Regions from separate parts of the Homo sapiens genome. Here regions 2, 3, 4, 5 and 6 are each linked to region 1. The links are contacts of gene promoters, found by promoter capture Hi-C in blood cells and fetal thymus (Javierre and others, 2016). All regions are on one chromosome and are shown on one strand. The core of a region is centred on a gene start or on the middle of the fragment in contact, and the rest is flanking DNA. Distances in the headings are between cores, read along the strand shown.

Region 1 (3,508 bases), core at 4-2,503:
CATGCCCAGGTAATTTTTTGTAGAGGAGGTTTTGCCATGCTGCCTAGGCTGGGTCTCTTTTCCTTCATAAAAATTCACATGGCTTGCCTAGGTAAGGATTTCTATTAAACTCTGGGGAAAATTTTTTAAAAAAAATATAGCATCTATAAACGCCAAACACCTTCACATGGCTCTAAATATGGTCTATAATTTGGTCCCAGATTATTTTTCTGGTCTCACTCCCTATTTTGTTAGTTAAACTCAACTATGCATAATTCTAGGATGGCCTGGATGTTGCTATCGGGTGGCTTTACTCAATGCCACGGTACAATGGTTTCAGAGCAGGTTTTGGGGCCAGACCCTCCGGGTTCAAACCCTGACTTCACCACTTATTACTACATGACACTGGGCAAGCTAATCTATGCCTCATTTGCCCATCTGCAAAATGGGTATACAGTAATATATATCAATTTGATAGGGTTGCTCTGGGAATTAAATGAGTTAATTCACGTAGTGCTTAAAATGCTGCTTCTACCACACACACAAACATGAGCTATTATTTTTCCTGCAACCTGAATGCCCTCTCCTTCCAGGTGCGCTCAATCCCATTTCCCTAATGACCCCATCAGAAATGACTTCCAGTCCCCCACAGCGCTCTGAGAGCATTTTACGACCCGAACAGATTTTGTCAAACTCCAAAGACACGTGCTCCCCTCGGCACCATCAGGTGAGTGCTCCTGACCGCGCCATTGGCTCGTGCCCCGACGCGGACGCTGCCTAGAGCAGCAGGTCCACACTCCCCCGAACCAGGCGCCGGCGGCCGCTAGTAACGCGTTGAGGCCAGCTCCCTCCTTAAAATGCGTACACATCTACTTCACATTTTCGCGCGGTGGCTGCGGGTCTAGGAAAGTCTTTCTGAACAGGAAAAAGCTGTACAAATGTAGCGGGCAGTAGGTAAACGGGCGCTCGCCCCGGGTTACACTAGGTTGGAGGCTCAGAGAAGGAAAAGGGATTAGAGGCGAGGCTCCGGGTCACGGGAAAAGGTCCTTGGCCTCCTGTCATGGATGGTGGCGCCCAAGGCCCAGGGTCGCCGTCTCTGCGCTCGTGCCTGCGGATACCTGCACCGCAGGACTCGGCGTCCGCCCCGATCACGCCTAGCCGTGCCGCAGCCGCAGGAAGGCTGACAACGTCCAGGCCTCTACCCGAACCCAGTCTTACCTACGGTGGCGGAGTGACCAGAAGAAGCGGGCCGAAGTAAAAGGCGGGGCTCAAGATGGCCGCCGGGGCCTCGCCTCAGCCCCGCCCATATGATGCCCCGCCCCTCCGGTCCCACTCACTCTCGCTTTTAACTCCGAGAACCCGCTCTTCTCCAGTTCAGTCTCCATGGCCCCGCCGCCTTTGCACATTGCACTTCCCGGCAGCCTCCGCGTGGGCGCCCCCTCCAACTCCTGCCTTCGCCCGCGTTTCTGCTCTGTGTGGTTACTAGGACCAACGAGGAGGGCGTTAGGTTAGTCCCTGTCACCTTGTCGGGGATCAGTCTGCTGTGCGTGCTCAGACTCTTCCCAGAGCCAGCAGCAAGAACCCGAGGCATTAATAAACTTGAGATGTAGCTTCGCTTAACTCGTGCAGAGGGTTTCCGTGTCACTTATGTAGAAACTAGGGCCTAATTTCAACTCCCTCAACTCCTCTGTCCCAAGACTATCCACGTCACCTACTTGGTAGCTTGAGTTAAACAAGAAACCTTTGAAATCTCCAGTGGCCGACACGCAGTGGGAACTCCATCAGTTTTCTGTTTTCTCCCTTCTTCCCTCAATAAAAATTAAGTTGAACTGACTAAGATTTGCTAGTTGATAATTTACAGCAAATCTTTCCTTTTGGTCTCTCTGATTTAAGCAAACTGTTGAGTGTACTTTGCCTCTTGAGAAATTAAATCTGATTACAACAGAGCTAAGTATTTTTCAGCAACGGTTAGACTGACATTGTAAATACACAATCTGATAGTTGGGGCTGGCCTCATGGGCCTGCAACCTGTGCTATTACCCGGCCCCCAGAACAGAAGGACGCTACATTTTCTCTCAGTAAGTGTTGAACCAGGGCCCCACGTTTGTGTCTGGAATTGGGCCCTGCAAATTGTGTAGCTATGGGAGCTGACTTAAGTATGGATGAGCTGCCACACAAGAGATTACCTGCCAGAATCTATTGTGTGGCTCAGGCCCATTTTGCCATAGTGATCTTTGGACTAAATTAACCTGTGGACTGAACCTGTGGATCAATTGGAACTTAGACTGAAAATAATGTTTCATCAAAATAATGTTTTTATTTTGAGAAAGCATTGAAGTAAATTGTTTTAAACTTTCTTTTTACTATCTTTAAGTATAAATCATTGAAAAGGGGATTTTCTTCAGTTTCAAAACTGAAACAGAATAAATACCTAAATTGCAAGTTCTTTATAACTGATGTTTGAACAAAGAGAAATAATTGATTAAATGATATATTTGCCTAATAAGTGGACTGCTGTGAGGTGCAGACTAGCCAAAGAACTGTAAGTGTGAAGTTCTTTACTAAAGGGTTCTTGTGTGAATACAATGTGAGAATAAGCAGAACTAAAATTTCTTTTACCCAGCATAAATAAAATGTTAATAGATCCACAAAAGTCGATTGCTTAAAAATATTAAGAATATATATAATTATCATTATTATTTGGACATGGAAGCAAAGAAGGCTGAAATCAGAAATTAAGGTTGACATTTTAAAAAATGGCACTACCAATAAAAATGGATGAATATTAAGTACACAAAGAAATAGTCCAAAAATTATGTGTAAATGTGTGGCTGAGAGGATATAGGACTCTTGGTTTGAACTAAAATGAGTAGGAATATAATCTTAAGGAGGCAATAAAGGGATGCAATAAAAATGAGAAAAAGTCAAATATACTTGAAGCCTGTAAGAAAAGAGATTGTTTTAGTCAGTTCCAGCTTAACAGAAATTTATTCCTCACCATTCTAAAAGTCTGGGAAGTCCAAGATCAAGGTGCTGATGAAATCTGTTCCTGCTGAGAGCCCTTTTCCTCGTTTGCAGAGGAATACCTTCTTGCTGTAGTCTCACTTGGTGGGTGGGGTGAGGAGAGCTCTGGTTCCTTCATCTTATTGTAAGGGCACTAGTCCCATTCACATGGACTCCACCATCATGGTGTAATTATCTTCCAAAGTCTCCATCTCCAAATACCATCACGTTAAGGATTTAGGGTTCAATGTTTGAATTCTGGGGAACACAAACATTCAATCCATAGCAAAGATAGTTTTAGAGAGACTAGAAAAGACACCATACATAGAAAATAATATAATCTCTTGGGTATCAAATATGCTACTTGAGAAGTGTCCTTGTGGCTTTTCCACAGACTAGAACAGGGTTTCTCAACCTCGGCACTGTTGACATTTGGGGCCAGATGATTCTTTGTCGTGGAGGCCTACCCTGTGCATTGTAGGATGTTTCGTAACATCCCTGGCCTCCACTAGCTAGATGCCAGTGG
Region 2 (3,614 bases), core at 1,115-3,614, 7.8 Mb before region 1:
ACTGTGATACTCAAGAGATGACCTGGTTTAAACTGACTTACATTTACAAAGAACGATTTTTAAGAAAATCAGTAGTAATGCTCATATTTAGATATGCCAATATTTTATTCCATTTTAATAGACCATGACAATGTTGATGTGTCTAATCACTCGGCAAAGCCAGCAGAAGATATATTTTAACTGCTGACCAGAAATACAGACTTAAGTTGCCATCTCATGTGAACAACACTTTCATATCTGGAAAATTTCCTATTCCCCTCTTTAGAATTTACTGTGACGTTTTTATGACACCAGGAAGAGAATATGCACACTGAGACCCTGTATCTTCCAAAAGTAAAAATCTGCTGGTCTACTTGGACTCACCAATTATTTTCTCATGAAAAGTAATTAAAAATCAGCCCAAGAACAAATTGTGACAAATTTCTAGGCATATAATTAGCAAACCAATATTTTATTTCAAAAATTAATTGGACACTTAGGTTTGCAAAAGCAGAACTTGTTCAAAAAAGAATGTTCAGTATTATCAAATATGAAAACTTAAACACGTCAATTTGAAAAAAGAAAAAAGCTGTATAAAAACAAAGCAAAACAGCAAGACCAGAGACAATTTTAATAATAGCTTTGTAAACTGAAATAAGCACCAGAGCACATGGCAACAATTTCTTCCGTTTCAGTCAAGGGTCGTAAAGGTATGCAGCTGACGAAAGAATAATTGCCCGGAAGGCCGAAGGAAAGCACCGTGTGTTGATGTAACAATGGTACATCAAGTCCTTACATTTTAAAATAAGTAACTTCTCGGTATTTTTGTGCTTGAGATATTGTTAGGCTCAAGACTACCTTCCAGAATTGTTGCTGTCTGGTTCACTCTGGGAAATGCGATCCACACAACAGCCTCAAAAAGCAGCAAAAACTTGGAAAGCAGGAGAAAAAAGTTTTGAAGCTCAAGTTATTGACGGCCAATTCCTAAGAACGTGACTTTAAACTTAATGCCACACTTACCATCAGGACACGAATTTTGCATGGCCAACGCAACAAATATACTCTACCTTATGCTTAGATTTGAAAACCCCATCATAATAACTACCATAAAAGAAACTTTCTGCGTATTACCTCTCGTTTTCAGTCACTCTTGTGTTACTGAAAGATGAGGCAATAAACTCAAAAATATTAAACCCCTTACCCAAAAAGTACAGAGCTATTACGGATTTGTAAAGCCGGCTTTGGAACCGAGGGCTTTACAAATGTAATTCCCACGACACCGTGCTGAGTCTCAAATTTGGCGTTAACGTAACTTAATTTCTATTTGTACTGGAAACGTATCAAGATATAAACTCCTCCATTACACGTGAAAATTCAAACCAATTTGGCAATCCTAGGACCCTTATTCTGCACAATCTCCATACAGTACCTCAAAGAGAGTCTAAAACACGAGAATTCATCTCATAAAATAATTCATGGAATCGGTCTAATTACCTTTCTAATTTCATCCAGCACCATTTCAAAGGACTTTTTATCCATCTTGACTACTATCCCGACGTGGTTTTAACAGTTATACTTGCAATTAAAAGACGTTCATCCCTGGTCTGCTCCGCCGATAGTAAAAAATATTTATAGCTGAGGAGGAAAAAGACTCCACGAGCAAGAGAGGATGCGAAGAGGTAGAGAGTATTGCAAACTTCGCAAAAAAAATTTCTAAAAATTGAGATTCAGAAAAACTCTTTTTATTAAAAAGAAAAAACACTCCAGTCAGGCTTCCCCAGCTTATTCACACAATGGTTCAGGGCACCTCGGGCAAGAGCCAGGTCCTCTGAGTTTTGCAGAAAAACCCGGGCTCGGCGGCAGGTTTGAGTGCGGTTTCCCTGCAGCTGAGGGCCAGGTGCCGCCAGAGGTAGCTCTTGAAGGCGCTTTCCCAGGTGGAGCGGCCGGCAGAGTAGAAACACCTGCGCTCAGAGTCCACGGGCGGCGGGGAGGGAGGCGCCGGTCTCTCGACCCGCACCTGCGCCTCGGCCGCCGGCCGCGACCCTCACCGCCGCGAACCCGGACGCATGGTCCGGCTCGCGCTCATCCCCAGCCGCTCCGCCCGACTCCTGGATACCTCGGCCCCGGCAGCAGGCGGCCCGGCAGGCTCTTTGTTACCAGCTGCTGCAGCTTCCGGGAGCGGGCCGGCGGCTGGGGAGCACCAGGAGCCGGGCGAAGAGGGGCACGGCCTCGCATAGGGGGACTCCGGAAAAACGCAGCCCCAACAGCGCCAGACGCCCTGCCTGGTTACCCCTACAGCCCCCACCAGCTCATGGGGACCTACAATAAAGCCAGTCGCGCCCAAGTAAACTCAACACTGCGCCGCCAGCTTGGGCCCCTCTTTCCTGAAAGCCAGAGGTGGGGTCCTGGTGTGGGAATATAGGCATCCATAGCGGATGCCTGGATGGTAGGAATAGGATGTGGCAAAAATCCTTCCCGAAGCCTAGCGGTCATTATTTTGAATGTCATCCCCACCATACCTCGTGTCTGAGTGTGCGATGTTTTGATTTTGCCCTCTGGATTAAAAAGAATAAATGGCGAGCGATTAAGGCATATCTACGGGCGCCCATACTTTGGTGGCCACTGAAAGTCAGCGGCGCGGACTGCCCTGAGGGCGGGAAAGGGTGGTCACTGGGTCAGCCCGAAGCACCTGACATGAGGGCGGGGACCCCGAAATGCACACGAAGTCCGGAACTGGTCTTCTGTGATTTTCATTCGCCCTGGTCTCTGTTCCCTTTCGTACTCAAAGCTCGTGCATCCAGGGAGGGGAAACCGGAGATAGGGTCTTCGGGCCCCGGGCAGACCCTCTGTGCCGCTGCAAACCGTTGCAGCCTGAGGCTGTCAGGTCCTCCCCCAGACACCTGCGGACCCTCCCTCTCCTGGCTTCCCGTCTGGTCATGGCGAGATTCTGGGTCTGCGTAGCCGGTGCTGGCTTCTTTCTTGCATTTTTGGTTTTGCATTCGCGTTTTTGTGGCTCTCCAGTGAGTTGGGTAGTGAGGAAATGACTGTCGGGTGTGCGGGTAGCCCTGTTGGGAGGCGTCGCCACGGTCGTGGCATGGAGGTGGCAGGCCCTGGTTCCCTCAGTAGCTTGTCTCAAAGCCTGCACCTGGGTCCAAACTGCCTTGACCCTTTGAGTTTAAAAATTTGTGTATGTTACATCGCCATTTTCCTCTTTCCCAACTCTTACTACATCCTCAAATAATTTGCAGACTTGTATTGTGGTCGTGTTGGTCTTTAGGCATCTAAGCTCATTTCTTTGGAATTATTTCAGTCCAGCAAACTTCTAGTTGTCAAGGCATGCTTAAAAATAAGCCCTGTTACCCGGCCCCCCCGCCCTTTTTTTGTTCTTACCTAGACGGTAAACTAAATCTGAATTGTCTGATTTTGTTTAAGGTTTTGAGGAACTTTACTTTTGCAGTTTCCTGGAGAACTGAGAAAATTCTTTACCGGCTGGATGTGGGTTGGCCTAAGCACCCAGAATATTTTACCGGAACAACATTTTGTGTTGCAGTTGACTCCCTCAATGGATTGGTTTACATAGGTCAAGTAAGTAAATAGAGATTTAAAAAAATTATGAACACAAAGGAAGTAACAGC
Region 3 (3,817 bases), core at 1,304-3,803, 9.8 Mb before region 1:
AGGATACAATGAGAATATTTCACTTTGCAACCCGCAATGAAATAAAGCATTTAGGTAATGATCCTCAATGACTACTAAAACCATTAGGCTGATGACAAACTTTATAAACTGGTGGGTCTGGCTGGCAACATTTGAAACCACAGATCCATCTTAACACCAGAGACAAATGGCCATTACATGACTCCTGATGAGACACAAGAGAAAGGAAGAAGCATCACTCACAATTTTTTCTTGATTAAAAAACACATCGAGTATGTATGTGATCAGGTCTCTCCATCCTAACTACCAGTTTATAGAAAATTTGAGATAGAAGATGTTAAAAGGCATTAAGGGGATGCAATCAAAGAAATCCAAATTGTGAGAAGTTCTACAGGACAAATGATCATATTAAAGACAAGGAAAAAGGCCGGGCGCGGTGGCTCATGTCTGTAATCCCAGAAGTTTGGGAGGCCGAGGAGGGTGGATCACCTGAGTTCAGGAGTTCGAGACCAGCCTGGCCAACATGGCGAAACCCCATCTCTATTAAAAGTACAAAAATTAACCGGGAGTGGTGGTAGGCGCCTGTAATCCCAGCTACTCAGGAGGCTGAGGCAGGAGAATTGCTTGAGGGCAGAGGTTGCAGTGAGCCAAGATCACACCACTGCACTCCAGCCTGGGTGACAAGAGCCAGACTCCGTCTCAAAAAAAAAAAAAAAAAAAAAAGACAAGGAAAAGAAAAAAAGGGGGAGGAGAAACTGTCAACTGATTAAGAGACTCAAGACATCAACAGAGTACAATGTGTGGCACTTGTTTGGATCCTGATTGGAACAAACAGACATATATACTGAGACATATATGAGACAAGTGAGGGCAAGTGAACTGAGGGGGCATTTGAAATCACAGAATAAATTTAAATCTGTGACCACTTTATTGTGGTATTTTAAAAAGAAGGACCTTATCTGTTAGAAATAAATGCTGAGGATTTAAAGATAAAATGTCTTCGAGTTGTTTTAAAATAATTCAGAAAGGAGGTGAGACTGTGAGTAATGGAGAGTGGATACATATGAAGACAGGATGAGGTTTTGAAAAATTATTTTTTTAATGATTTCTTGCTCTGGCATTTAAAAAACCTAAGTTTCACTAGTTGTGCAACATTTGAGTACACGAGCTCATTTCTCCAACATGTTTCCTCACCAGTAAAATAATGCTAATGATAACATATATGTCACAGTGTTAAAGATTTAATAACTCCTATTAAACCAAGTGCAACACAACATATAGTAAGTACTACAATCAATAAATGGTAGCTCTTATCACTTCAAGCTAGTGGGAACAAATACCGTCAGTACAATCCCATAAAATCTGTGCAAAAGACCCAAAGTAAGGCAGCTTCAATCTAAGAATGTGTGAATCCACTCCCCGCCCGCACCCCGCCAAAAATCAATCAATCAATCAATCAATCCTGGTTTGCTCAAAAACTTGAAAAAACAAAAAAGCCCTAAACCCTGAAATCTCTACTAGTTAGGGCAAGAGAGGACTCCTCTCTCACCCAGATACTATCAACAAAGAAGTAAGGATGCATTACATTTTATCTAAACTGTAAATTTATACAACCTCTGGAAAGATGGCAGAGTGGCCTTCCTGGCAGTGCTGTCTAGGTGGCTAATCTGAATGTCAAGGAAGCTGAAATCCTCTCCACTTACTAACTAGAGGGCAGGCTCATTCCAAGGTGTGCGGGAGAGAGTTCGCCAATTTTCTACCACTTAACAATCAGCAAGTGTTTACAATGTTTTTGTGTTTCGAGAGCAAGGGCAAAGACAATCGAGTTTGCATTCTATCGTCCTGCCTTGTTTAGGGGCAGTATATTTAGGGTGCTTAATTCTGGGACACAATGCGACCCCGGACAAGGCGCCTGAGGCCTGTCTCTCTCGCTCACCCTGCGTCCCTAGTGGGTCTCATCGATCCACGCATTTATTCCCATTTGTAACAGATGGCTGCCGTCAAGGCTCCGTCACCCCTATTTGCTTAACCACATCAGCCAAGGGAGCAGGCTAGGGAGCACACCCCTTCTGGGGGCTCGAGACCTCCCTGGGTGGAGCAGAACTGCAGCGGCTGCAGGTCCCGGAGAGTCTGGGAGAGGTCGAGGTTGACAGAGGAGGTGGGTAGGGGGCGCGGGCGCCAGGGGCGATGGAAGCGGCGATGATGCCAGGCCGGGTGGGTGCGCTCCAGTGTGAAAAAACTTACAAGTCTCTGAGCACACAAAGAGATAAGATTCCAAGGGAAAATTAAAGAACCGAAGAAAAGGAGAGTGAAACTCCAGGAAACTCCGAGGTCAGGAATTTGGGGGAATCTAGGGGAAAAGGGACTTCTCCGAGAACTGGTAGCGCGGAGGAGGGGACGCCTGAGGAGCCGCAGTCTCCAGGAGAGCGGTAAGCCCCGGCCTGCGCGGGTTCCCATCCCTGTTCTCACCAGTACGAGGGCTGCGGCCGCCAGCGCCGCGCCGAGCACCGCCAGCTGCAACAGAAGCGGAGCCATTCTCCATGCCGTGGCAGCCCGCCCAATCCCGCACCTCCACACAGGCGGAAGCGCGCCCGCGCGACCCGGCCCCGCCGCCAGAGAGGTCGCGCCCGCTGGCCGCAGCGCCCCCGCGTGGCGAGGCGGAGAAAACGCCGCTCTCGTGCCCTCGGCGCCCAGTCGGTGGAGAGGAGCGCTAGGTTCCACAGCGGGGCGCCAGGTTTATCAAGTATGCAAGACGTCTACTTAATTTGAATTTCAGATTAAAAAACTAATCATGTTTTTAACAGCCTTATTAAGATAGCCACATACCATACGACTCATCCAGTTACAGGTTTCTGGTTTATTACATTAGTTTTTATAAACTGTGGTAAAATAAAAAGTTGCCATTTTAATCATTTTAAGTTTACAATAGTGAGTGGCATTAATTACATACATACTGTGCAACCATCACCACTATCTATCTGTAAAGCCTTCCCAGCTCCCTCCAGGTTCTGGCAACAACTAATTGCATGCTCTATTTGGGGCATACTCATGCTTTAAAAAAAAAAAAACCCACAAAAAAACAAAAACAAAAAACAAAAAAACCACGCTGTGTTTATCAGACATTCAAATTTAACGTGGTATCCTGTATTTTATCTGGTAACCCCACCTAGGAGGGAGATGGCAGCCTTGAGCACGACACAGTCTACAACACAAGGTGATGCTTAGGAGCCCTCAGCTCCGGGACCTGCAGAGCAGAACGTGGTGCGGACAATGAGCGCACAGAAAGTTCAGGTTTCTCGGCCGAGCGCCGTGGCTCACGCCTGTAATCCCAGCACTTTGGGAGGACGAGGCGGGCGGATCACAAGGTCAGGAGATCGAGACCATCCTGGCTAACACGGTGAAACCCCGTCTGTACTAAAAATACAAAAAATTAGCGGGGCGCGGTGGCGGGCGTCTGTAGTTCCAGCTACTCGGGAGGCTGAGGCAGGAGAATGGCGTGAACCCGGGAGGCGGAGCTTGCAGTGAGCCGAGATCGCGCCACTGCACTCCAGCCTGGACGACAGAGCGAGACTCTGTCTCAAAAAAAAAAAAAAAAAAAGTTCAGGTTTCTCATGTGTTGGAGCACGGAGCCCTTGACCAGTGAAGAGGCAAGGCCAGGGCTGAGCCTAAGTCACAGGCAGAAAAAAGACGCAGAAACATTGGAATAACGCTCCACACGCACTGCTTGATTCTGCGCTAGAAACCCTGTTATCTCCGAACTGTTGGTGTTATTCTGAGTCACAGCACCAGCTCTTTTATAAAGAGGGAGACCCGCTCCTTCTTTAACAGCAGATTCGTC
Region 4 (3,853 bases), core at 726-3,225, about 10 Mb before region 1:
TAGACATTTTTGTTTATATTGAGAAAAAACAAAAGTGAAACAATGAAGATGTATATAAGGTCTTCACTTGTTCAATGATGTGATGTAAGCAGTTTCTTTGCTGAATTGCATGATAGTTTTCAAATACTGAAAGAATATTTTCTCAGTTGGGGGGGTTGGATATTCACAATGTGAGAGCTGCAGATAGAATACATTTTCAGTTTAATCTTTTTCTTTTTCTTTTTTTCTTTTTTGATGGAGTCTCACTCTGTTGCCCAGGCTGGAGTGCAGTGGCACAGTCTTGGCTTACTGCAATCTCTTCCTCCTGGGTTCGAGCGATTCTCATGCCTCAGCCTCCTGAGTAGCTGGGATTATAGGTGTGGACCACCACACCTGGCTGATTTTTGTATTTTTAGTAGAGACGGGGTTTCATCATGTTGGTCAGGCTGGTCTCGAACTCGTGACCTCGTGATCCACCTGCCTGAGCCTCCCAAAGCGCTGGGATTACAGGTGGGAGCCACTGAGCCTGGCCTTAAATTTAATCTTCATTAACATTTTCACTGTCACTTTCTTAAGTGCAGAGACAATCAGCAATAAGTGTAAACCTGCTTCGTAGCATTTGATCATTTCCCTGGTGTAAATACTCCAAAAGTGGCTGATTTCAAGCAATCAACATGACATACTGAAGGCAGAGTTGGGAAAATGTGCAGTAACACACCACTAAATAATATTTCCGCATACAGATACAATAGACATAAATAACCTTAAAAGCACAGATAATGATAAAACATAATAAAATAATTAGAAAATGAAGAGTTTTGAGATTTGTACCCTTTGTTTTTAATATAATCTTATTGTAAGTTTATGTAGTAAGACTTTTAATAATAGCAGTGTTTAATTTTTCTGCTAATTATATTCCTGAAATTTTAGCAACCAGTTACCATCAGTTGGCGCTAGCACACCACCGACTGCAGGCTTTACTGATGAGGAAACTGAGGCTCGGAGAGGCTGTCACGAACTTGCTGTAGTCACACAGGAAGTACTACCTAGGTTGCTCTAATTCCAAACCTTCTCCCTTCCATATGCCTCTCTTTAAAACATAACTGATCTACCTATATGTCAGCACCCAAACATCTTAGTGTGAATGGATTTATAGTTTGTTGAATAAAGTCATTGCTTTCCGGTAGGTGGGATGGGAAATCTGACTAGGCGAAAGAATAGGATGAAGGGAAAAAGAACATCTACTTAACAGTTCAGGATACGGCAGGATATTTTCTCTCCTGGGATTTGGGCAAGCCAAGATTTAACAACCAGCAATTGCCCAGCAACTGATAGAACTGGTAGAACATTCATTGTTTTTTTAAACGTTTGCCATTCAGTATTCCTTTTCACACATTTTCACTGTGTTAAACGAAAACGTTAAGACTTATCTCAGCAGCCACAGCAAAGAGCAAGTACTAACAATCAAGTGAGTTTCCAGGAGAAAAAAAACAAAGTTATCCCTCAATGCAAATACAACTCGGCCAAAGGTGTGGCCCATCCCTCTCCGCTCCACTATTTTCAAATAAGCCACCTCTGCCTTCATGGACTGCGAGCTAGTGACTCTAGGCTGTGACACCACTGCATCCCAGCTTCAAATCTCCCCTTGCAGGCAGTTTGTGGGGGAAATAATAAAATTAGCATCCTAACACTACAAGTCGTGAGACCGCTCAGGAACAATCCTAATTTGCATACTGGAACTCCTGTAGAAGATACTTTGAACCGCTTTAGATACAATAGGATCAGGTAAAACGGCGCTGCCTTGCCAGCCACTGCAGGTTTTCACCTGACACAGCCCCCAGACCCTGTCTACGAATCCCCCAGCTGGCCGAAGGGGCCGCGGCCGCACATGCGCAGTCAGTCCCGTTGGTTGTGCGCTCAGCCCCGCCCCCAGAGGCGCCGCGCTCCCTGACAGCCCGCGGGCGTACACACGCTGACGCGCAGGCTGCGGTCGCGCAGGCGCAGTCGGGGCGCCTTCCCGGTATAGGCGCCTTTTACCCCAGCGTGTCCTGAGTCTTTGGTTCGCGAAGTGCCGTTAGGCCAAGCAGGTGCTAAAAGCCCGGGGTCGTGGACCCCGGCCAGGTCTTAGCAGCATGGAGGCGCAGGGTGTAGCGGAGGGCGCGGGGCCGGGCGCCGCCAGCGGCGTGCCCCACCCCGCGGCCCTAGCCCCGGCTGCGGCTCCCACCTTGGCGCCAGCCTCGGTGGCGGCCGCGGCCTCTCAATTCACCCTGCTAGTGATGCAACCCTGTGCTGGGCAGGACGAGGCTGCGGCCCCCGGGGGCAGCGTTGGGGCGGGCAAGCCCGTTAGGTACCTGTGCGAAGGGGCCGGGGATGGCGAAGAGGAGGCTGGGGAGGACGAGGCGGACCTGTTAGACACTTCGGACCCTCCGGGGGGAGGCGAGAGCGCGGCTAGTTTGGAGGATCTAGAGGACGAGGAGACTCACTCGGGGGGCGAGGGCAGCAGCGGGGGCGCCCGGAGGCGGGGCAGCGGTGGGGGCAGCATGAGCAAGACCTGCACCTACGAAGGCTGCAGCGAGACCACGAGCCAGGTGGCCAAGCAGCGCAAACCGTGGATGTGCAAGAAACACCGCAACAAGATGTACAAGGACAAGTATAAAAAGAAGAAGAGCGACCAGGCCCTGAACTGCGGTGGGACTGCCTCGACTGGCAGCGCGGGAAACGTCAAACTCGAGGTATCAGACTTAGCTGAGGCCTGGGGATGGGAGGTGGAAGAAGAAACCCGATCTTAACGCAAACCGCATCTGCAGGGCCTGCCTCCCCACTTCCAAATGGGCCGGTTTGCAGTGACTGGGTTAGTGGTTGAGAATTAGAGTGTTTGCCCTAAATTAAAGTTTATACCAACATGTGCAAAGCAATAACAGTTCTGTTGAACTCATGATAGGTGCAGAAATTTCAGTAAAAATAATGTGACATCGGCAGAGCTGTCATAGATCTGGGATATGGCTGGAAGGACATAGAGTAAATGATCGGTCTGGTTCATCGCTAAAGGAGACTTAGGAACCTAGATGAAGTTGGTACTTCTGAGAAAGTCATCTCTTTCTGTTTTCACTACTCTATTCTCAGTATCCAGTTCTCAGTACCCAGTTCTCAGTACCTCTATTTGTAATACTCCTGTATTTAGTACTTTGTTTTTAGTGTCCTGTTCTGTTAACCCTCTTCCTAGTACCGTATTTTTAGTACTGCTATACTCAGTTGCCTGTCTGTAGTACCCCTGTACGTAGTACTCTTTTCTTACAACTCTGTTCCCAGTACCCCTATGTTTAGTCCCTTGTTCTCATGTTCTCACTACCCCAATACTTAATATACTTTGTTCTCAGTATCCTTGTTGTTAGTACCCTGTTCTCACTACCCCTTTTCTTAGTACCCCTGAGGGGGGAAAAAAAGGATGATAATGGGGTATAAGTCTCAAAAAACTTTTGGATTGTTTGATTTGAACTGAGTCAAAGGTAAAACCAGTGTTCTGGAGTTCGACTTCTGGGTGCAAATCCCTGTTGCATCATTTACTGGCCTTGTGGCTTGAATAGGTTATTAAACTCTGTAAAATGGGCATTAAAATCGTGTGTCATTCATAGTGTTGCTGTGAATATGTGAGCCATTCCATATTGAGGGTTCACACAGTGTCCAGCAACTGGCTAAAGTTTGCAAACCTTACCCATTATTATTGTCATTGTTAGTGGTATACTTTGAGGCTGTCACAAATAAGCAGATATTTCTTCTTGTGAGAGCTATATAATCCCTTAGTGTAGAGAAAAATTTAATTTTGTTACAAGTGATCCAAGCCAGGTATGGTGGCAAGTGCCTGTATACCCAGCTG
Region 5 (3,939 bases), core at 972-3,471, 5.7 Mb after region 1:
GGACCGCATAGCTGCAAGGCAGCTCAGCAAGTCACTAAGTCCAGCTTTGGGGCACAGTGGTAAGGAGACTCCTCTTAGAGCTCCACTCCAATTTCAAGCTTTTAGAAGAGTTAATTCTGGACTAGATCACAGGGTCTAAAGCAATGTTTTCCCCATGATTTGTTTCTTAAACCTCTGACATCTATATACTTGTCTGCTAATACAAGCAGCAAAAATTTTAAAGTAAAAATTAAAACTTGCTGCTTCAACAATGTATCTTTCATATAAAACTACTAATGGTTGTTATTTTACACTGTTTTAAATCTATCACAGCTATACTGCCTGCCAGCAAAGGTGTTCCTAGTCTTCAAATTGGAGTTCCATAGAACAGTATCATGCCATGCTCTGCAAAAGCATGACTTCCTAGTGCTCCCTCAGGGAGTGGCACTGGAGGAGTCTCTGAGGACAGATCTAACACTGTCAACATTCGGTTCCTCTCAAAGGGGAGGCAAAATCAAAACACCGAGGAAGGGGAGGTGGATTAACCTTCCCATTTTAAATAGTCACAAAGATGTAAATTGGTAAGAAAGGAGAAAAAAATAGCTTGTCACTCCAATCCGGGGATGGAAGACTCATCTTGAGATCAAGATAGTTAAAGTGCCAAGGCAGGCTGGGCACAGTGGCTCAAGAGCCTGTAATCCCAGCTGTTTGGGAGGCCCAGGCGGGCGGATCATTTGAGGTCAGGAGTTAGAGACCAGCCTGGCCAATGTGGTGAAACCCCGTCTCTACTAAATATGCAAAAATTAGCCGGGCATGGTTGCAGGCGCCTGTAATCCCAGTTACTCAGGAGGCTGAGGCAGGATCTTGAATCTGGGAGGCGGAGGTTGCAGTGAGCCCAGATCGCGCCACTGCACTCCAGCCTGGCGATAGAGCGAGACTCTGTCTCAAAATAAATAAATTAATTAATTAAATTAAGAAGTGCTAAGGCAGTAAGTGAAGTTAGGTCCAAGCAAATTATTTAAGGAAAAGACCTTTACTCACTAATACAGGCAACACAGCCCATAGAAAATGCCCTAAGAGAGTCAGAGGACCTGGGTCCAATGTCACCTGTGCCTCTAAATAGCTGTAAGCACTTACCAGGAAAAGCTGAGTTGAGGAACTTATATCAAAGTACAGCGGAAAGTGTCGTTAATAAAACGGCAAGGGAAGAGAGGTAGCAAATTAAAACTTCTGGAAACCAAAAATGCTTGTGGGTAAATGAGTTTTAAAATTTTTCTAATTCCAGTTTATCCATTTCAATCCAGGACAAGATATTTCATAGTTTCAGTAAAGTATCTACAAAATATTTACTTACACTTCCTATTTCTCCTCTCGATTTGCAAACGCACCTTCTAAGATTTATGCTTGCACTACAAGGCACGGTCTACTATTAATATAACACTTTACAAAACACGCTCAGAACGCCTTTCTAAAGCAATTAGAAAACAAAACAAAAACCCAATAGCCTTTGGCAAGGGCATTCCAATGAAGCACTGATACCTCTTTAGGAAATCCTTTCGAAGCAATCCCTCACCCCTCTGCCCAGATATGCTAATCCCTCCGACTGCATAAGGTCCAAGCTAAAGCTTCCGCTGGGGCACGGACTGTACGGCCACCGCGCCCTCCTCACAGAAAGGCGAAACGGGGCTGTCCGGTGCCGACGCCGAGGTTGGTGTCGTCAGGGGGTCTGGAACCACGCCAAGGAAGTCGACTGCCGGATCGCCGCCCGGCGCCCGCAGACGGCGAGCGCTCCTTCTCCCGGGCACTGCAGCTGTGCGCTCCCGGAAGCATTCCGGGCGGAGGGAAGCGGCCGCGATCCGCGCCTGCTGGGAACCGTGCCAAAGTTGGGACCCGCGCTGGGGAGGCAGCCGAGCGCCCCACGCCACGTGCTACCGACCGGCGGGGAGCGCAAGAGCGCTGCACCCCGCACAGAGGCCTGCCGGGCCGCCGAGGGCCGTGAGCTAAGCCGGGGACCGGGCCGCGCCGACCCGGGCCGCGCTGAGCCGGGCCGCGCGCCCACCGGGGGTCCCTTCCGCCAGCCCGTTGGGAAGGTTGGCAGACGCCCTACCTTCTCCTCGCCATCGTAGATTCGCACCCCGCGCTGCTGGATCACCAGGGTCTCGTTGATCTCCAGGAGGCCGCTGGTCCAAACGAAGCGGTCCATGGCCGCTGCCACCCAGCCCCGGCCCTCCGAGGCCGCGAGCAGCGCGCCAGGCAGCCTGCGGCGCCCCCTAGCGTCGGACGGGACGGAAGCGAGTCGGGGCGGGTGAGGGACGGAGGGAGCGGCCTGGCAGCGAGCGGGCGCGGCTGCGAGGTGCGCCCGGGGACGTGGAGACGTGCGTGGAGCGCCCCCTGGCGGTCCATTAGCCGCCGGCCTTTCAGAACCCTTGATCAGCAGGCGGTCCACCCCATTCTAAATTCAGAGCTTACAGGGACGCGAGGGAGCCCCGACCACAGCTTGGACTTGCTTATTGTGCATTATGCCTGCATGTTTGTGGCAGTTTTCTTGTCAGTGCCCAGAATGTTGCTACATTCGCTAATGATTGTAAATAATCATAACCCCTCTCTTTCAAATGAATATTTATGGCACGCATTGTTTCTGTACAGCTGCAGTCAGTACTACCTGTGCTGCTCTTTTTTTCCCTTTAAGATTATATTGTAACACAAAGGATAAATGCTTGAGGTAACGGATACCTCATTTACCCTGATGTGATTATTATACAGTGTATGCCTGTATCAAAATATCCCATATACCCCAGAAATATATACACCTATGTACCCACACAAATTAATTTTTTTTTAACTGGGGGAAACAGATTTTATTTAACCGGGCTTGATGCGCGCGCCTGTATTCCCAGCTGCTTCCGAAGCTGAGGCGGGAGGATTGCTTGAACCCAGGAGTTTGACACCAGTGGGCGACATAGAAAGACCCTTTCCCCCTCCACCCCAACTCCCCCACGCCACTCCACTCCCCCACCCCCAGGCTCAGAAAAAAAAGATTATTTTTATTTAGGCATTTTCAATATTAATACAGACCTCATGCGTGAATTTACATTTCAATATGTAGTTCCTCTATAATTTAGCTGTTTGTTGGTCTGCGCAAAGCCATCCATGGCCGCTGCTCTCACCCACCAGGCGGCCTCGTGCCCCTAGCCATTTCATTTTTGTATTTTGCTTTATAAATGGAACACCTGGCCGGGCGCGGTGGCTCACGTTTGTAATCCCAGCACTTTGGGAGGACAAGGCGGGCGGATCACAAGTCAGGAGTTCGAGACCAGCCTGGCTAACATAGAGAAACCCTGTCTCTACTAAAAATACAAAAAATTAGCCCGGCGTGGTGGCGGGTGCCTGTAATCCCAGCTACTCGGGAAGCTGAGGCAAGAGAATCGCTTGAACCCTGGAGGTAGAGGTTGCAGTGAGCCGAGATCGCACCATTGCACTCCAGTCTGAGCGACAGAACGAGACTCTGCTTCAAAAATAATAATAATAAATAATAAATAAATAAATAAATGGAGCAGCTTATAGATGTCCTTCTACAATTGATACATATTTTTCTCTTTAGGATTATTTTCTTACAGTGTCTTCCTAAAATAGAATGACTGCTTTAAAGGTTGTGAACACATTTTAGAGAGCCTACCACTTATTGGGGTCTTAACTAAGGCTGCGTGCCCACGTGGGCAGAGGGGCACAGGGGCAGAGGGACAGAGGGCAGGCTTGCTCTCTGCCCCCAGGGCTCCACATTTCCCCCAGTCGTGGAGTCAGTGGTCTGTGGCTAGGCATTAAAAGAAAGGAAAGGCTCTTTCCAATGAGTATAAGCCATCTCTCCCCCGAAATGAATTGCTACTTTTACCGTGTTCCAAAATCCTGTGTGTATTTTGGTCTATTTCTAAACAGTGTCTTCTGTATTTCATATCTTTCAAT
Region 6 (3,912 bases), core at 219-2,718, 5.9 Mb after region 1:
TAAAAATAAAAGGTATAAAGGTTACAGAGAAGTTAAACCATCTTTATTCGTGGATTGCAAGATTTTGATCACAGAAATTCCGAAAGAATCTACAGAGTATTACAAATAACAAGGGAACTTAGCAAGATGCTTGCATATAAGGTCAGTATGTTAAAATCAATATTGTTTATTCTTACGAGTAGAATATAAAAAAGTCAAAATGCCATTTAACATTGTATACAAAACACTAAATACTCAAGAATAAATCTAATGAAAGATATATATGATCTCTATACTGCAATCTATCCAAGCACAGCTGCATTAAAATATAGATATATGTGCAATCTACAAAATATTGCCAGGAGAAATTAAAGACCGCTTAAATAAATGGTGGGGGAAGAATGATATTCATGGATTGAAGGACTTGTTGTTAAGATACTAGTTTTCCCAAACAGATCTATAGATTCAATGCGAGCCCAATAAAAAATCCCCCCCCTTTTTAACAAGCTAATTCCAAAATTCACCTAGAAATACAAAGGCCGTAGAATAAGCCAAAACAATCTTGGGAGAATAAGTTACAGGACTTAAAGATTTATTATAAAACTACATTAAATTAACATAGTTTGGTACTGGTATAAAGTTAGACAAAGACTACTCCCTCCCGCTCCTCAATCTGCCCCCATCCCTAGAACGTGCTGGCAGCTTTCTCCATCCGATCTGCAAGGGTTAAAGGGCGCTGAGGAAGGGCTGACCGACTGGGGTGGGAAACAAAGCGGCACTGAGATAACTTCAGGCCACCTTCCTCCCCTCAGTACCTTCGGATGAAAGGTTTCCCTTCTTGGTCTGGGAAGCCCACTAAGAAGAAAGCCTGGGCTGTGGCGTTCTGGGGAAGTGAATAGTACGGCCGCCGGGCGCGTCGCCCCAGGAACCAGAAGGCTTTTTGCCGCTATTAGTGCAGAATGACTTCCGGCAAGTCCCAGTCGTTTAGAATCCCCAGCCCAAAGATCGCGGGGATCCACGCGTCATCCGGGCCTCTGCTCCCGGAAGAGACCACGCAGCCGCTAAAGACGTAATGGAGGCGAAAGGGCTTGGCTAGCTGTGGCAGCCATGATAAAAACTAGGGAAAATGGGAGCTCGAAGTAGCTTCCGTTATTAACAGACATACAAACGCCCCTAACCGCCACACGTTCCTTAGGGATGACAGTACGTTACAAAAGTGCTTCTAAAGTACTACTGAAAGCTCCGTGGGAGTGCCCGCTGGCGTGGGCGCGGTGGAAGGGAGGAAGAACGTGTACGCCCCAGGCCTCCGTAACCATGGCTGCGAGGGGCGGGGACTGGGAGCGCGGGTCCTGGGCCGGGGTGCGGCTGGGAGGAATCGGTCCTCCACTGTCCCAGCCGGCCCCGCGCCGGCGTGTCGCCTCCCGTCCCCCTAGCAGCACGCTGCGTGGCTGCTCGCTGGCTATTTAGGACGGAAGCTCGGTTGGTGTTTCTCCAGAAGTTTCCCCCTTGGGCGGTGGTGGAGGTGGTAACCGTGATAGTAGCAGCTCCGGCGGCAGCAACAGCGACTACGAGGGATGGCGGCGGCTGCAGCAGGAACTGCAACATCCCAGAGGTGCATGTTTTTCTTTCCCTTTGGTATTTATTTTATCCCCCTTTCCTTGGCTAGTGAGCCCTGCTGAAGTCGTTGTTTTCCTGACAGGTTTTTCCAGAGCTTCTCGGATGCCCTAATCGACGAGGACCCCCAGGCGGCGTTAGAGGTGAGAGAGCCCATTTCTGCTTCCTCCACTCTTCTTAGGGGAGCTGGGCCACTTCGGGTCCCCGCTGACCCGCCTTCTCCCCGCACCGCCGGACAGGGACCCAGGCTCTTGTTGATGCTGCGTCTCAGCTCCGGTATTGAGATTCTCCGTCTCTTTTCTCTGTTACACGGTAGCCGCGTTACCCCAGACTCCTGTCTTGCCCTTTCCACTCCCTACAGCTCCTGAGAAAAACCTCCTCTATTTCTTGGGAGCATGGTTGGCATTTGTAGTTTGGCTGAAAGGATTTTTTTTTTAATGACATTTATGATTAGAGAAGTGGACTCTGGGCTCGATGAAGTTAATTTTTTCGTTTGACAATAATTCTTGCCATTCTTACGTAAAAGTGTCGGTATGAAGTCAGTCTACTGGAGCAAAACCCTTTTCCCTCACGTCCCTGAAACTTTCCAGATGTCTTATCACAATTCATTATTCACTCATTTGTATATTCATCAAAATTTTTTTTTGGAGTGGCTGTGTGCAAAGGCGCTGATTGCTGTGGGTTAAAGTCTTGGTTATATACTCAGCTAACCTAGAAATCACTTTTTGTAGGTGTGCAATGAAGGCAAACCATAAAGCTGTAAAGGAATGTAAAAGATCAAGAGTTAAATAATAAGAATTAAAGGAGAACCTAAAGATAAATGATGCTGCGGGTCACAGAATTTAGCCAGGAGTTTTTGTTTGTTTTTGCGTTAAATCACAGAAAAGAGGAAACCTGTTTTGCTGTTACGTTTAACAATTTGAGGCAAGACAGCGTCTTTTCTAGCTATGACTTTTATAAGAAATGTGCCACATGGTACTAGAGCCTCCGTTGAGGAGATCTTTGAGTGGAGATTTGAAGGAACAAGGGAATTAACTTGGAAGCTCTGGGGAAAGAATATTCCAGGCAGGACCAAGAGCCAGTGCAGATCTTGAGGTAGGAATGAAGTTGGCCTGTATGTGAAGCAACAAAAAGGCCCTTTTTATTAGAGGGCCCATTTGATTAAGAGAGGTTGGACAGGAAACTAGGAGCCAGGTCCTATAAGGCCTTTTAGGGTCCAGGTGTGTTTTTTACACCTAAATATATAGACCTTTAGATACTGGGAGTAAGGCTTCTGGGATGAGTTTGGGGATAATGTTACAGGAAGCACTGAGAATTTTTCTCCATAATTTCTTGTATTAGCTAGACAGCTATGACTTTTAATTTACATTTGTTATTGTCGTGTTAGACCTAGTGCTTCCTTTGGGAATCCAGTTTATATAAAAGTTGCTTTTAAACAGTATTAACATAATGAATTTTATTGTCACTTTCCATCTTCTTTTACTTTAAAAATTTTTATGGAGGCATATATGATTTATGTAAATAACACAGATTTTAAGTCTATAGTTTGATGAGTTTTCACATGTTTACACCACCAGATTAAGATACAGAGTATCTCCATTCATAATGCTCCTTAATGCGCCTTCTCAGCCAGTAATTCTTCTTACTGTCCTGCTGACTCCTGCTTTGACCTCCATCACCATCAGTTAGTTTTGTTTGTTCTTGACTCATAAACAGAATCATACAGTAGGTGCTTTATTGAATGTAGACACTCTTTTTGCTTTAATGATTACATAAGTATACATTCATATTGTGTGAAGTAGTAGTTCTTTCGCATTGCTGTGTAATATTCCATTGTATAAATATATGTTGTATAGCCGTAAGTACGGCGCAATTTATTCTAACAGTGGACATCTGGGTTATTTCTAGTTATTAGCTAACAAAAAGCTTCTGTGAATACTCTTGTACATGTATTTTGGTGAACACATGCATTTCTTTTGGTTGTATGTACCTAGGAGAAGAATTGCCTAGGATAGTCATGTGGCTAGTATTAGTACCTTGGTTTTTAATGTATGGCTCTTGGACCAGCATTATCAGCATCACCTGGCAATTCATTAGAAGTGCAGCCGGGCGCGGTGGCTCACGCCTATAGTCCCAGCACTCTGGGAGGCCGAGGCAGGCGGATCACGAGGTCAGGAATTCGAGACCAGCCTGGCCAACATGGTGAAACCCCGTCTCTATTAAAAATACAAAAAATTAGCCGGGCATGGTGGTGGGCAGCCGTAATCAGCTACCTGCGAGGCTGAGGCAGGAGAATCACTTGAACCCTGGAGGTGGAGG

What was found. Contacts are between HindIII fragments. The CHiCAGO score rates a contact against its expected background, and 5 or more counts as called.
Region 2: the fragment with the promoter of PROSER1 here is called in contact with the fragment with the promoter of ESD in region 1 in 1 of 17 cell types (naive CD8 T cells); the score reaches 5.2 in naive CD8 T cells.
Region 3: a contact is called between the fragment with the promoter of ALG5 here and the fragment with the promoter of ESD in region 1, in 2 of 17 cell types (non-activated CD4 T cells and naive CD8 T cells). The highest score is 8.0, in non-activated CD4 T cells.
Region 4: the fragment with the promoter of RFXAP here is called in contact with the fragment with the promoter of ESD in region 1 in 1 of 17 cell types (naive CD8 T cells); the score reaches 5.7 in naive CD8 T cells.
Region 5: the fragment with the promoter of VPS36 here is called in contact with the fragment with the promoter of ESD in region 1 in 2 of 17 cell types (naive CD8 T cells and non-activated CD4 T cells); the score reaches 5.3 in naive CD8 T cells.
Region 6: the fragment with the promoter of SUGT1 here is called in contact with the fragment with the promoter of ESD in region 1 in 5 of 17 cell types (activated CD4 T cells, non-activated CD4 T cells, total CD4 T cells and 2 more); the score reaches 12.2 in activated CD4 T cells.

The regions. Positions count from the first base shown.
Region 1 is chr13:46,795,908-46,799,415 of GRCh38, forward strand. ESD (esterase D) reads right to left here and starts at 1,254. Exons shown (of 10, transcript NM_001984.2): 1 at 1,198-1,254. RefSeq lists enhancers at 389-990, 1,122-1,171 and a silencer at 762-811. The HindIII fragment of the contact is 4,378 bases long and covers 1-3,508 here.
Region 2 is chr13:39,035,725-39,039,338 of GRCh38, forward strand. PROSER1 (proline and serine rich 1) reads right to left here and starts at 2,365. Exons shown (of 13, transcript NM_025138.5): 1 at 1,474-2,365. The coding sequence starts at 1,518. NHLRC3 (NHL repeat containing 3) reads left to right here and starts at 2,732. Exons shown (of 7, transcript NM_001012754.4): 1 at 2,732-2,999; 2 at 3,412-3,564. The coding sequence starts at 2,916. RefSeq lists an enhancer at 594-703 and a silencer at 1,846-2,075. The HindIII fragment of the contact is 10,591 bases long and covers 1-3,614 here.
Region 3 is chr13:36,996,787-37,000,603 of GRCh38, forward strand. ALG5 (ALG5 dolichyl-phosphate beta-glucosyltransferase) reads right to left here and starts at 2,554. Exons shown (of 10, transcript NM_013338.5): 1 at 2,449-2,554. The coding sequence starts at 2,514. RefSeq lists a silencer at 2,470-2,769 and enhancers at 3,230-3,279, 3,740-3,817. The HindIII fragment of the contact is 11,758 bases long and covers 1-3,817 here.
Region 4 is chr13:36,817,247-36,821,099 of GRCh38, forward strand. RFXAP (regulatory factor X associated protein) reads left to right here and starts at 1,976. Exons shown (of 3, transcript NM_000538.4): 1 at 1,976-2,711. The coding sequence starts at 2,112. LOC124903158 (a long non-coding RNA gene) reads right to left here and starts at 1,825. Exons shown (of 2, transcript XR_007063760.1): 1 at 921-1,825. RefSeq lists a silencer at 1,894-2,263 and enhancers at 2,494-2,543, 2,554-2,783. The HindIII fragment of the contact is 8,641 bases long and covers 1-3,853 here.
Region 5 is chr13:52,448,413-52,452,351 of GRCh38, forward strand. VPS36 (vacuolar protein sorting 36 homolog) reads right to left here and starts at 2,222. Exons shown (of 14, transcript NM_016075.4): 1 at 2,087-2,222. The coding sequence starts at 2,182. RefSeq lists an enhancer at 1,808-2,388 and silencers at 1,909-2,368, 2,409-2,468. The HindIII fragment of the contact is 2,912 bases long and covers 1,603-3,939 here.
Region 6 is chr13:52,651,368-52,655,279 of GRCh38, forward strand. SUGT1 (SGT1 assembly cochaperone of MIS12 kinetochore complex) reads left to right here and starts at 1,469. Exons shown (of 13, transcript NM_006704.5): 1 at 1,469-1,591; 2 at 1,679-1,736. The coding sequence starts at 1,554. It overlaps SUGT1-DT (SUGT1 divergent transcript), which reads right to left and starts at 940. Exons shown (of 1, transcript NR_170300.1): 1 at 1-940. RefSeq lists enhancers at 770-1,109, 1,219-1,720, 1,830-1,949 and a silencer at 1,200-1,469. The HindIII fragment of the contact is 4,517 bases long and covers 1-3,517 here.